Regions from separate parts of the Homo sapiens genome. Here regions 1 and 3 are each linked to region 2. Evidence: promoter capture Hi-C in human tissues and cell types (Jung and others, 2019). All regions are on one chromosome and are shown on one strand. Each heading gives the region's core, a stretch centred on a gene start or on the middle of the fragment in contact. The rest is flanking DNA. Distances are from core to core; before and after follow the strand shown. Region 1 holds the start of CSNK1G1 (casein kinase 1 gamma 1). Region 2 holds the start of PLEKHO2 (pleckstrin homology domain containing O2). Region 3 has its middle 7.1 kb from the start of CLPX.

Region 1 (4,068 bases), core at 206-2,705, 490 kb after region 2:
GTGGCGCGGTCTCGGCTCACTGCAACCTCCGCCTCCCGGGTTCCCGCGATTCTCCTGCCTCAGTCTCCCGAGTAGCTGGGACTACAGGCACACGCCACCACGCCCAGCTAATTTTTGTTTGTTTGTTTATTTATTTATTATTATTTTTGAGACGGAGTCTCGCTCTGTCATCAGGCTGGAGTGCCATTGGAGTGCAATGGCACGATCTCGGCTCACTGCAATCTCCGCCTCCCGGGTTCAAGCAATTCCCCTGCTTCAGCCTCCCGTGTAACTGGGACTACAGGCACGTGCCACCACCCCCAGCCAATTTTTTGTATTTTAGTAGAGACGGGGTTTCACCATGTTGGCCAGGATGGTCTCCATCTCCTGACCTCGTGATCTGCCCGCCTCGGCCTCCCAAAGTGCTTACAGGAGGACTACAGGCGCGAGCCACCGCGCCCGGCCAATTTTTGTATTTTTAGTAGAGACGGAGTTTCACCATGTTGGCCAGGATGGTCTCCATCTCCTGACCTCGTGATCCGCCAGTCTCGGCTTCCCAAAGTGTTGGGATTACAGGTGTGAGCCACCGCACCCGGCATATTTTGAGTTTTGAGTGGAGGATTAGACAGTCTTCTTCCTTCCCAAATTTGATTATGGGCTCCCTTTAGCCTTTTTCTTTGTTTTCTGTCTTTTTTCCACCACCACCCCGCCCCCGAGGCGCAGTCTCAAGAGGTCCTGAGAACATGTGCCCTGCTCTCTGTTTTAAGGATTAAAATAACTGTCGAGTTACATTGAATCTTTTTTGCCTATTCCATTTGGCTAGGTTAATTCCAGACCTTACACAAACATGTGCAGCTCTTACAAAATGTAGGTGAAGACAACATTTTTCTAACCATTCGGCTTCATGGGCTGTCACAGGAGAACTAAGTGCATGAAAAACCTTTCACAACATTGAAAGAAATTTTAAAAATCTGGTTGAAACACAATTAAAAATCCACAAGAGGGAGATGCTTGCTAAACCGTCAGAAAATAATTCCCTCGAGGGACCTGAGAGAGGAGCCTGGAGCCTTAGGAACAGCCACTGGGTCAGCCACGGGATTAAGGGTGGGAGGGAGCAGGAGTATATAGAGACGGGGGCTTGGTGGAGGAGTACAGTTGAAGGGAAAAGCGGGATGGGTTTCGTGCCTCTGGCAGCGAAGCGTGTACTTGGTCTAAGATCTTGAGCAGAAGGTAAGAGCGTGTTGCCAAAGCAGAGCTCAGTGCTCCCGATATATCTTCTGGTAGTCCCAGAAGAAATGGGGGTGGGTTGCTTTGAAGGCACTTCCGCTTAGCAACCCCACGCGGTTGCTAAGGAGGGGGCAGCCGTGGGGATAACCCGGAAGTGATGGTGTCAGTTTAACGCTGCCTGCCCAAAGTTTGTCCTATTAGGCCCGCCAGGGTACTCTGCGACTCCGGGACGAGGGCGGGGCCGCGCTAGTGGTTCCGGTTCGGCTCCAGCCGCCCCTCGGCTCCTCGCCTTCCCCCTCCCGTCCGCCTTCTCCCCTCCCTCCCGCTCCTGGGAAAGAGAGAAACCACCGCTGCGGGTGGGTAGAGAAGCACTTGGCGCCTCGGGGAGGGGACCGCGCCCGCCTCATTTGCGCCTTGCAGCACTGCTGGACCAGGTATCTGCCCGGCTTCGTCGGGGTTCTGTAGGCTGAAGTCTGAGGGGGTGTGTGTGTGTCTGAGGGGGTTGGTGGGGGGCCCTTTCCTGGGCGTGGGTGGGGGACGCCGTGATCCCGGGTGGGGCGCAGGCTGGCGTTTGTGTCTGTGGAGGGTTGCGGGGGCGGAATGGAGGGGCTGAGGGACACAGCGGGTGGAGAGTTTCGGTTAGCGGGGTAGAGGTAGGCGGAGGAGGCGCCCCTTCCGAGAAACTGACTCTAGCCGGTGTGGACCGGGAGTTTGCCACCTGGAGGGCTTACTCTGAAAGGGGGAGCATCCCCCGGGAGCCAAAAGGAGGGCACAGATCTCGTCAGGGTGACTGGGGCTATCCCGTGCTTCCATTGCCCTCTTTCCCTACCCACCCCGCTGGGACAGAGCTGGACTTCGAAGGTTGTGGGGGTTCTGAGTCGACTGGGTACCGCGGGGAGCCGCCCTTGGCGGAGCTTAGGGCACAAGAGTGGGTAATGAGACTTTCCTCTACCCAACTTCCGTACGCTTCCCCCACTTCTTCCTTTACTGTTTCCTCGCCCCCACGTCCTACAGGAGCAATGTCCCCCAAGTGGGCAGGCATCACAATGTAAAAGAGAGTGGAACTGGGTTTGTTGCCCCTAAATGACACTTAAGATGTTTGGAAAGTGCCTGAATGACATATTCAACCAAGTCTCCCAGCTCGATATTAATTCCGGTATAAATTACCTTAGAAAAGTGGAATTCTGAAAAGCATTTAACAATAGGCTAGTCCAGGTGTAGTCTTGTGTAGTAGATGTACGTGTTTATTTAAAAAGAATGGACTGGGGAAACCATATAGATGTATCACAGGTCTAGGCAAGACATGTTGAGGCAAGGCTTTTGCAGCCTCTTTCTTACCTGCCAGTAAACCTGTCCTAATTTAAATGAAGTAGAAAGATCCTCTTCATTTTTGTTTCAATCAGTGACTGAATACTAGGTGCTGTGTAGTGATGTCTCAGAACAGATATGTGAATTTTCAGAGAGAGAATGAATGTTCTGCTGTTGAGCCTGTGTCTTAATCTTTTAAGGAGATAATTGCGGTCAAGTGGAAGTATTGACTTTCAGGCAGATAAATCTTGGGTTGAACCTAGACTATGCCAGTTGCTAGTTACTGACCTTGGGCAAGTCATGGAACCTACCAGAGCTTTTGTTTCTTCATAAGTAGTATGAGTTAAAATTCTTACCTGTATTATAAGTAACATCCCATTTTAAACGGAACCACCTTTGAATTAGAAGATAAATTATTACCATTAATCATACACAGTCAAGGCAGCCCAGTTTTGTGAAACGAGGTTTGAGATAGGAAAGCAACCGGATAATTTTGAAAAAAAAATGCATACAATAGGACTTTCAGTGTCTTCTCGAAATTGATCGTAGGTAGCATGAAATTCAGTTATCAGTAGTTTCTTAAAATTCAAAATAATAAAGTAGAATATGGCCCATTTATTGAAATGAGCAAAATATATTTTATAGATTTTTCTCAGCTACACCATATTGGTGTTTATAGTATGGATTAACACGAAATACATGAAAAAGTAATGTATGTAAATCTTAACATCACATGTCTCTTTAAAGAGAATTAAAATTGGGGTGTAAAATAGAAGGTACTTGTTTTTTGTTTGTTTGTTTGTTTGTTTGAGACAGAGTCTTGCTCTATCACCCAGGCTGGAGTGCAGTGGCACGATCTCGGCTCAGTGCAACCTCTACCTCCAGGATTCAAGCGATTCTCCTGCCTCAGCCTCCTGAGTAGCTGGGATCACAGGCGCCTGCCACTACACCCAGCTAATTTTTTGTATTTTTAGTAGAGAGAGGGTTTTACCATGTTGGTCAGGTTGGTCTTGAACTCCTGACCTTGTAATCCATCCGCCTTGGTCTCCCAAAGTGCTGGGATTACAGGTGTGAGCCACCGTGCCCGGCCTACTTGTAATTTTAAGATAAAAATCAGCAGCATCAGCAGCACCTCTCATCTCAGTTAGATTTATGCTACTAGAAAAACTTATATAATATTCAGAAAACAAAATCGAATACATTTCTGCCTTTAAATCATTCCTTATTACGATATAGAAATAAATCCAAGAAACATGAAGTCTGTTTTTTATTTATTTTTAGTGACAAGGTCTTTCTCTGTCACTTAGGCCAGAATGAATGCACTGGGGCAATTATACTCACTGCAGCCTCAAACTCCTGGGTTCAAGCAAACCTCCTGCGTCGCCCTCCCAAAGTGTTGAGATTACAGGTGTGAGCCACCTCACCCAGCCCATGAAGTCTTTTTCTTTCTTTTTTTTTTTTTTTTTTGAAATGGAGTCTCACTCTGTCACCCAGGCTGGAGTGTGGTGGCACGATCTCGGCTCACTGAAACCTCCACCTCCCAGGTTCAAGCAA
Region 2 (3,915 bases), core at 438-2,937:
TCTCAAAAAAAAAAAAAAAGAAAAGAAAGTGACAATGTGAGAGATTCAGGACCAAGGGTGTACAGAGCTGAGCCGGGCCCAGGAGGTGTCCGGAGAACTTCCCTTAATCAGGGGCCAGCGCAGATCAGGAGATGGAGTAATCCTGACCCACATCCTCTGGGAGCAGGGGAGGGGCCCTGGCCAGAGAGCCCAGCCCTTGCAGCAGGGGCCTGGGGCAGGCAGATGGCAGCCCCACCTAACAGCCAGAAAGAAACCGCAGCAAATCACAGAGGCCTGACTTTGCCCCCTACCTTCACCCACTGAGAGAACCGGCCACTGTCAGGCCAGGAGTATGAGGAGGACAGGCACTATATTTTGTAGAAGAGGAAATGAAGGCTGAGAGGGGAAGTGACTTATCTACCATCCCACAGAAAGGCAGGGCCTGGCCTAGAGGGAGCCCTGACGGACCACTAGCTGCTCCTATCCATGGCCCTGGAAAAGTGGGAGGTGGGCACTGAAGGGACACAGGCAGTCCGGTCCACTCAGGGCTTCCCAGCTGGCCAGGGTTCCCCCAAGGCAGAGAACTTCATCTTTCCTCCCCATCCAAGGAGGCAAAGACATGCCCCTTCCCTTGGGCTGAGAGGGGCTGAAGCTGGGACCCCCTCAGGGGATAAGAAACAAATTCACCTTCCTCTAGACCCAACAGGCCCCTCATTTTAACTTAATCATTCCACAGGCATATATTAAGTGCTTGCTGCGTGCTGGACCCTCGGATAAAGCGGCTGCTGGCAGAACTGAGTTTGCAAGTAAAGGGCAGGGGCAGGGGCAAGACCCAATCCCAGGCCAAGAGTGTTTTGAGTGGTTAGAAGGAGGCTCCAGGGACACAGTTGGTCCAGCCCTCGGGTGGGGAAGGCAGGGACTAAGATCAGACCCTAGGTGGGCCGGACTCCCGATTCCTTCCCTACAGCTAGCTGCTCAGATGGATGTGGAGCGGGGAGAGAGTGGGGGAAAAGATACAGAGACTTATACAAGGGAGAAAAAAGCAACTTCTCCAATCCTCCTGCCACCAAAGCATGGTCACATCCTTGAGACAGGAACCCCCCAACACACACATACACACACACACAGAGTCAGGATCCGATCCTTGAGACAGGAACCCCCCAACACACACATACACACACACACACAGTCAGGATCCGACACACACACACACACACACACACACACACACAGAGAGAGAGAGAGAGTCAGGATCCGACCACGGTAATCGGGGTTCGAGCCCAGTCACCCAGGCCACTTTCAGCAAGTCATCAATCTCGCTGGAGTCTCAGTCTCCTGGTCAATCCAATGGGAACGGTAACAACCACGACGCCCCACAACTGGTGAGAAAGTCAGCGAGAATGAAGGAGGACGCGGTCTGCGAAGTCCCCGATATGGATCCAGCCCCTCGCCCCTGCCCCATTTGCCCAGGCTCTTCCTGAGGTGAGACTGGCGGGAGTGGGGCGGGCAGGAACGAGGGCCTGAGCCCAGGACCGCAATCCCCGTGAGGGGCTCGAGGACCCCAGCCCAACGCCCCGCCGGGCCCCGCCCTCACCTCCTCCTCCATGGCGAGTCCGCCGAGGTCCCGCCGCTCCGCCACTCGCTTCCAGCGCCGCGCGGGCTCTGCCACCGCGTCTACGCCCGGCCAGGCGGCGACTCTCCGCGTTCTGTCCCGCCGGCTGCCGGGGGCCCAAGAAACTTCGGGGGGGCGGGGCCGGGGGCGGGGTGAGGCTTCCGGGGGCCGGGGCGGGGCCGGGGAGGGGGCGGTGGGGCCGGGGGCCCGGCCCAGGGCGGGAAATGGGTGGGGAGGGGCGGGGCCTGGGTTGGAGACTGGACGGAGGAGCCGGGCGGAGATGCAACTGGAGGAAGAGGGCGGGACGGGGCGGAGAAGGTTTCCCGCATCGGCGGAGGGAGAGGGACTAGGAGGGGGCTGCGGCGGGGGAGGAGAGGGGGCTTCCGGCCCAGAGACTGAGGCGAGGGTGGCGGGAGCGGCGCGCAGGCAGGGCTGGGGTGGGGCGCACACAGTGAGCGCTGGGGGCGCTGGCGGTGGAGCCTTTGAGGTCTCCCGAACCAGTGGGCTGGGGTTGCGAGACCGAGCCGAGCTGCCCTGGGCGGCCAGAGATGTGGGCACACAGAGGCTCCTCCTCTTTCCTCCCCGACGCCGGGCAGTGGGCGGTGGCCTGGTCTTCTCCCTGGAACCTCTGGGCGGGGCCGGGCCTGGAGCTTGGGTCTCTGTCCGGAGGGTGGTGTCACAGGAAGAGCTGGAGCTGAGAGTCGGGACTCCGGGGTCCCTTTAGGGGGCGGCCCGCCCCTGGCTCTCAGGGGTCTCCAAGCGCAGTGTTCTCCTGCTCTCCTTGGGCATCGCTCAATCCCTCCCGTATCTGAGGGTCGACCATCCCCCCGATCCCGCGGTGAGCTTGCAGCCCTGACAGCCTTACTGGAGAGTGGGAGTGTGGGGACCAGCAGAGAGTAATGATTTTAGTTATACCATGCGCCCTCATTTTACATTGGAGAAACTGAGGCCCAGAGAGAGAAAGTAACTGGCTGCATCGCAGCCTGCAGCACCGCTCCCCTCTCACACACACACGCATACTCCCCCTTAGCTCTCCTGGTCAACCCCGTCCCATGCCAAGGAAGGGAAAATTAAGTGCATGTGAGATCAATGGTGACCTTCTTCGGCTCTGGCTGCCATAGCAGCGGCTGTGCCAGCGACCAAGCTCCCCTTTCACGGCCTTCTGCCAGCCCTCAGGCTCCCAGGCTACTTCCAGCCCTGTACGGAAAAGGGCAGCCTGGGGCTCCCAGGCCAAGGGGGAAGGAGATGCAGGTACACTTCTCCCTCATGCCTAGGCCTGGGATCCTTTAGCTAAAGGAATGAAGAAAATTGAGGCTGATATTATCACACTGGTCAAGAAAAAGAAAGAATAGAAAAGAAAGAGAGAGGAAGGAGAGAGAGAGGAAGGAGGGAGGGAAGGAAGGAAAAAAGGAAAGAAAGAAAAAGAAAAGAAAGAGAAATGAAGGAAGGAAAGAAAGAAAAGAAACAAGGAAGGAGAGAGGAAGGAAGGACGGAGGGAAGGAAGGAAAGAAAAGAAAGAGCTGGGAGCGGTGGCTCACACCTGTAATCCCAGCACTTTGGGAGGCTGAGGCAGGCTGATCACCTGAGGTCGGGAGTTCAGACCAACCTGACCAACGTGGAGAAACCCCGTCTCTACTAAAAATAGAAAATTAGCCAGGCGAGGTGGTGCATCCCTGTAATCCCAGCTACTTGAGCGGCTGAGGCAGGAGAATCGCTTGAGCCCGAAAGGCGGAGGTTGCAGTGAGCTGAGATCACGCCATTGCACTCCAGTCTGGGCAACAGGAGTGAAACTCTGTCAAAAAAAAAAAGGGAGAGAGAGAGAAGGGAGGGAGGGAGGGACGCAAGGAGGGAAAAGAGAAAGAAAGAGAAAGAAAGAAAGGAAAGAAAAAGAGAGAAAGAAAGGAAGGAAGGAAAGATGAAGGAAAATTGAGGCTGAGGATCTGAGATAGTCTGTATATGTAGCAACCTCTTTCGGCCACCACATGGTTTTACTCCCTCAATCTGCAGAGCTGTGCAGCATTCTACTCCAATGATCAAGGACTCAGAAGATCTTGTATCTGGAAACTCATGCTCCACCTGCAGCAGACCAGAGACCCTGGGGAAATTCATTTTGTTACACAGAAGCAGCCCTTTGTAGGGAGAGAGCAGTGAGGACAGGTTGGTTTGACATCCAAATAGTTCTGTCATTTTGGGGAATGAGCCATTGAGAACTACTCTGGCCTCAGTTTCCCCATCTAGCTCAAAAAACCCTCTGGTTTTGCCTCTATACTGTGTGCTTTCATTCAACACATATTTTATTTTCTTTGTCTGTCAGTCCCTACAAT
Region 3 (3,780 bases), core at 8-2,507, 350 kb before region 2:
TCTCCTGCCTCAGCCTCCCGAGTAGCTGGGATTACAGGTGTGCACCTCCATGCCCAGCTAATTTTTGTATTTTTAGTAGAGACAGGGTTTCACCATGTTGGCCAGGCTGGTCTTGAACCCCTGACCTCAGGTGATCCACCCACCTCAGCCTCCCAAAGCGCTGGGATTACAGGTGTGAACTGCCGCCAGGCCTAGCCAGCATTCTTGAGTTGAACTCATGATACTTAATTCCTAAGAGTCTTGCCTCCAAAATCAAATGTGCTCCTTGCTAGCTGCATAACTTTCCCCTGGACCTCAATTTACTCACCTATAAATGAAGGATTTCTAAAGCCCTTTTCATGATTTTCAGTGAGGCTAATAGCACCATTCCCAGGATGCTTTCAGTTCATTAAACCACTGCTGATTTGTCGGTTGTTCCCCTGTGGAGACTGCACACTGGATGGACAAAATGCTCATCTCAGGAAAGCCCTAGCGTTTCAGTCTCAGCCTTCTGATCACCCAGTTACTGAGTGCGAATTCTGTGAAGGTCGGTACCATATGGCATGGAGGAGGGGAACAGGCAGGTAGATGGGCAGATCAGGTTGCTTCTGCTTACAAACAAGGGAGTTTTCAAACAATGTTCTCTCAAGTTCAAAGAGTTCTAGCAGCTGACGTGATAAGAGAAAAATGTCACCAAGATGTTGGGACAAGAACAGAGTCTGGAAGGATTGAGAGGACTTAAGCAAAATTAGAGGTAGATGGGGTTTCAGGTAAAGGTGTTGGCTAGAGCCAAAGAATAGAGGTGGGACTGTGCACTGGCAGTCTTTTGATTACAAGTAACAGGGGTGCCAGGTAACCTCAGGAAGGACTGGAACCAAGAATTGCAGAGCCATCAGAATCCAGGTAATCACTCTTTCTGGTTTCAATTAACTTGTCTTCTCTCATGCTCGGTGGCTTTGGTTCTCTCAATTTCTAATTCAATCTTGGGTTACATGCTCTGTTTTTCTTTTTCTTTTCTTTTCTTTTTTCTTTTTTTTTTTTTGAGACAGAGTCTCGCTTTGTTGTCCAGGCTGGAATGCAGTGGCGCCATCTCGGCTCACTGCAAGCTCCGCCTCCCGGGTCCACGCCATTCTCCTGCCTCAACCTCCCGAGTAGCTGGGACTACAGGCGCCCGCCACCACGCCCGGCTAACTTTTTTTGTGTGTATTTTTAGTAGAGGCAGAGTTTCACCGTGTTAGCCAGGATGGTCTCGATGTCCTGACCTCGTGATCCACCCGCCGCGGCCTCCCAAAGTGCTGGGATTACAGGCGTAAGCCACCGCGTCTGGCCTACAATGCTCTGTTTTTCAGACTGTCTCTCTGACTTTATTTCTATTTTTTTTTGTTTGTTTGTTTTTGTTTTTTGAGACGGAGCTGTGCTCTTGTTGCCCAGACTGGAGTGCAATGGCGCGATCTCGGCTCACTGCAACCTCCGCCCCCCGGGTTCAAGCAATTCTCCTGCCTCAGCCTCCTGAGTAGCCGAGATTAAAGGCGCCCGCCACCATGCCAGGCTATTTTTGTTTTGTTTTGTTTTGTTTTTTGTTTTTTGATACGGAGTCTCTCTCTGTTGCCCAGGCTGGAGTGCAGTCGTGCGATCTCGGCTCACTGCATCCTCCACCTCCCACGTTCAACCGATTCTCCTGCCTCACCCTCCCGAGTAGCTGGGATTACAGGCGGGTGCCACCACGCCTGGCTAATTTTTTGTATTTTTAGTAGAGACAGGGTTTCACCGTGTTAGCCAGAATGGTCTCTATCTCCTGACCTCGTGATCCGTCCGCCTCGGCCTCCCAAAGTGCTGGGATTACAGGCGTGAGCCACCGCACCCGGCCAATTTCTCTCTCTTCTTAGCCCCTGTCTCTGTTGCAGTCTCTCCCTCTCACTGTGTGGTCTTTCCTCTCTGCAGGAACCCTTGGTTCTGCTTGCAGATATGCTTTCTCTGTTCCTCTGGGCTCACAGAAGAAGGTGGCCACCCTATTTATATCTCAAGTCAATGAATAGCCCTGTCTTGAAGACCGAATTTGATTGGCCCAGTTTGAATTGGGGCTCCACCTCTAGTCCAATCAACCGTGGCCATGGCAGGGGTGGGAAATACAGGGCAATCCTGCTATCCAATCAAATTCCCTGGAGAGACAATCTGGTTGGCCCAGCTGCAGTTTGCCTCTAGTCCAGTCAACTGTGTCCATGGTGGGGGTGTGGCATATAAAGGGCAGTCCTAAGGCCTTGGGCGGTCGCTCTCACCTACAATTCCAGCACTTTGGGAGGCGGAGGCTAGCAGATCACCTGAGGTCAGGAGTTCAAGACCAGCCTGGCCAACATGGCTAAAAATACAAAAATTGGCCAGGCGCCTGTGGCTCACGCCTGTAATCCCAGCACTTTGGGGGGCCGAGGAGGGTGGATCACCAGGTCAGGAGATCGAGACCATCCTGGCTAACATGGTGAAACCCCGTCTCTATTAAAAATACAAAAAATTAGCCAGGCGTGGTGGCGGACGCCTGTAGTCCCAGCTACTCAGGAGGCTGAGACAGGAGAATGGCGTGAACCCAGGAGGCGGAGGTTGCAGTGAGGCAAGATTGTGCCACTGCACTCCAGCCTGGGCGACAGAGCAAGACTCCGTCTCAAAAAAAAAAAAAAAAAAAAGGCTTTGCTGGCTGGGTGTGGCGGTTCATGCCTGTAATCCTAGCACTTTAGGAGGCTGAGGCAGGTAGATCACTTGAGCCCAGGAGTTCCAGACCATCCTGGGCAACATGGTGAAACCCTATCTCTTAAAAAATACAAAAATTAGCCAGGCATGGTGGCACACACCTGTAGTCCCAGCTACTCGGGAGGCTGAGATGGGAGGAGCGCTTGAGCCTGGGAGGTAGAGGCTGCAGTGAGCTGTGATTATGCTACTGTATTCCAGTCTGGGCAACAGAGTGAGACCCTGTCCCCTCATCAAAAAAAAAGAATTTGCTGTATCCCACACTGCTAGAAATGGAAGAGATTGAAAATTTTGTAGATTTAACAAGGTGATGTTTCATTTCTGTAGCACAATAGGAAATTGAGTTGTTTTACAGAAGCAGTTTTCCAGAAAATTCAAACTTTTCCTCTTTATTTAAGACTTTTTTTTTTTTTTGAGACAGCGTTTTTGTTCCCCAGGCTGGAGTGCAATAGCACTATCACAGCTCACTGCAGCCTTGATCTCCCAGGTTCAAGCAATCCTCCCACCTTGGCCTCCCAAGGAGCTAGGACTACAGGCATGAGCCACCACACCAGGCTAAATTTTATTTTTTGTAGAGACTGAGTCTCACTGTTTTGCCCAGGCTGTTTTCAAACTCCTGGATTCAAGCGATCCTTCTGCCCTGGCCTCTCAAAGTGCTGGGATTACAAAAATGAGCTACTGCACCAGGCCTCCAAAACTTTTAAACTTTTGATTGTTTTGGGGTAGAAATATAAAAGTATTTAGTCTACTTTTATAAAAACAGAAATAACATAATTCAATCTTTTCTTGATGTATTATGAATACCATTATTGTGGAAGTATAATACTAATAAAATAGCAACCAGGGCTGATATGATATATAAAAAATTTTATCTAATCCCAAATGATGCCAGACTATATACCCTTCTTGTTGAGTTCACACATCTGTTTTTGTGTTTCCTTTTTTGTCAGGCTATTAGACAACACTTTGGCTGTGGTTCTAGCACCTATTCCCCCTTTCTAATTTACTGACTCATGCAATGGGGATCCATATGACCAAATTAGTATTTAAAATGAGCAAAGAGAC

What was found. The method cuts DNA at HindIII sites, captures the fragments that hold promoters and counts their contacts. A contact is called where the count stands out against the background at its distance.
Region 1: the fragment with the promoter of CSNK1G1 here is called in contact with the fragment with the promoter of PLEKHO2 in region 2 in 5 of the 25 tissues and cell types used here (adrenal gland, bladder, heart left ventricle and 2 more).
Region 3: a contact is called between a fragment that was not itself captured here and the fragment with the promoter of PLEKHO2 in region 2, in 1 of the 25 tissues and cell types used here (pancreas).

The regions. Positions count from the first base shown.
Region 1 is chr15:64,353,560-64,357,627 of GRCh38, reverse strand. It overlaps CSNK1G1 (casein kinase 1 gamma 1), which reads left to right and starts at 1,455. Exons shown (of 12, transcript NM_022048.5): 1 at 1,455-1,640. RefSeq lists silencers at 1,520-1,569, 1,680-1,739, 2,130-2,189. The HindIII fragment of the contact is 13,823 bases long and covers 1-4,068 here.
Region 2 is chr15:64,839,687-64,843,601 of GRCh38, reverse strand. PLEKHO2 (pleckstrin homology domain containing O2) reads right to left here and starts at 1,687. Exons shown (of 6, transcript NM_025201.5): 1 at 1,574-1,687. The coding sequence starts at 1,585. It overlaps LOC124903508 (a long non-coding RNA gene), which reads left to right and starts at 3,446. Exons shown (of 4, transcript XR_007064682.1): 1 at 3,446-3,748; 2 at 3,906-3,915. RefSeq lists enhancers at 480-1,031, 1,064-1,587 and silencers at 1,395-1,834, 1,845-2,164. The HindIII fragment of the contact is 9,878 bases long and covers 1-3,915 here.
Region 3 is chr15:65,190,555-65,194,334 of GRCh38, reverse strand. No RefSeq gene overlaps it. Among named protein-coding and RNA genes, the nearest start is that of CLPX, 7.1 kb to the right of the region's middle. RefSeq lists an enhancer at 1,970-2,264. The HindIII fragment of the contact is 3,805 bases long and covers 1-3,159 here.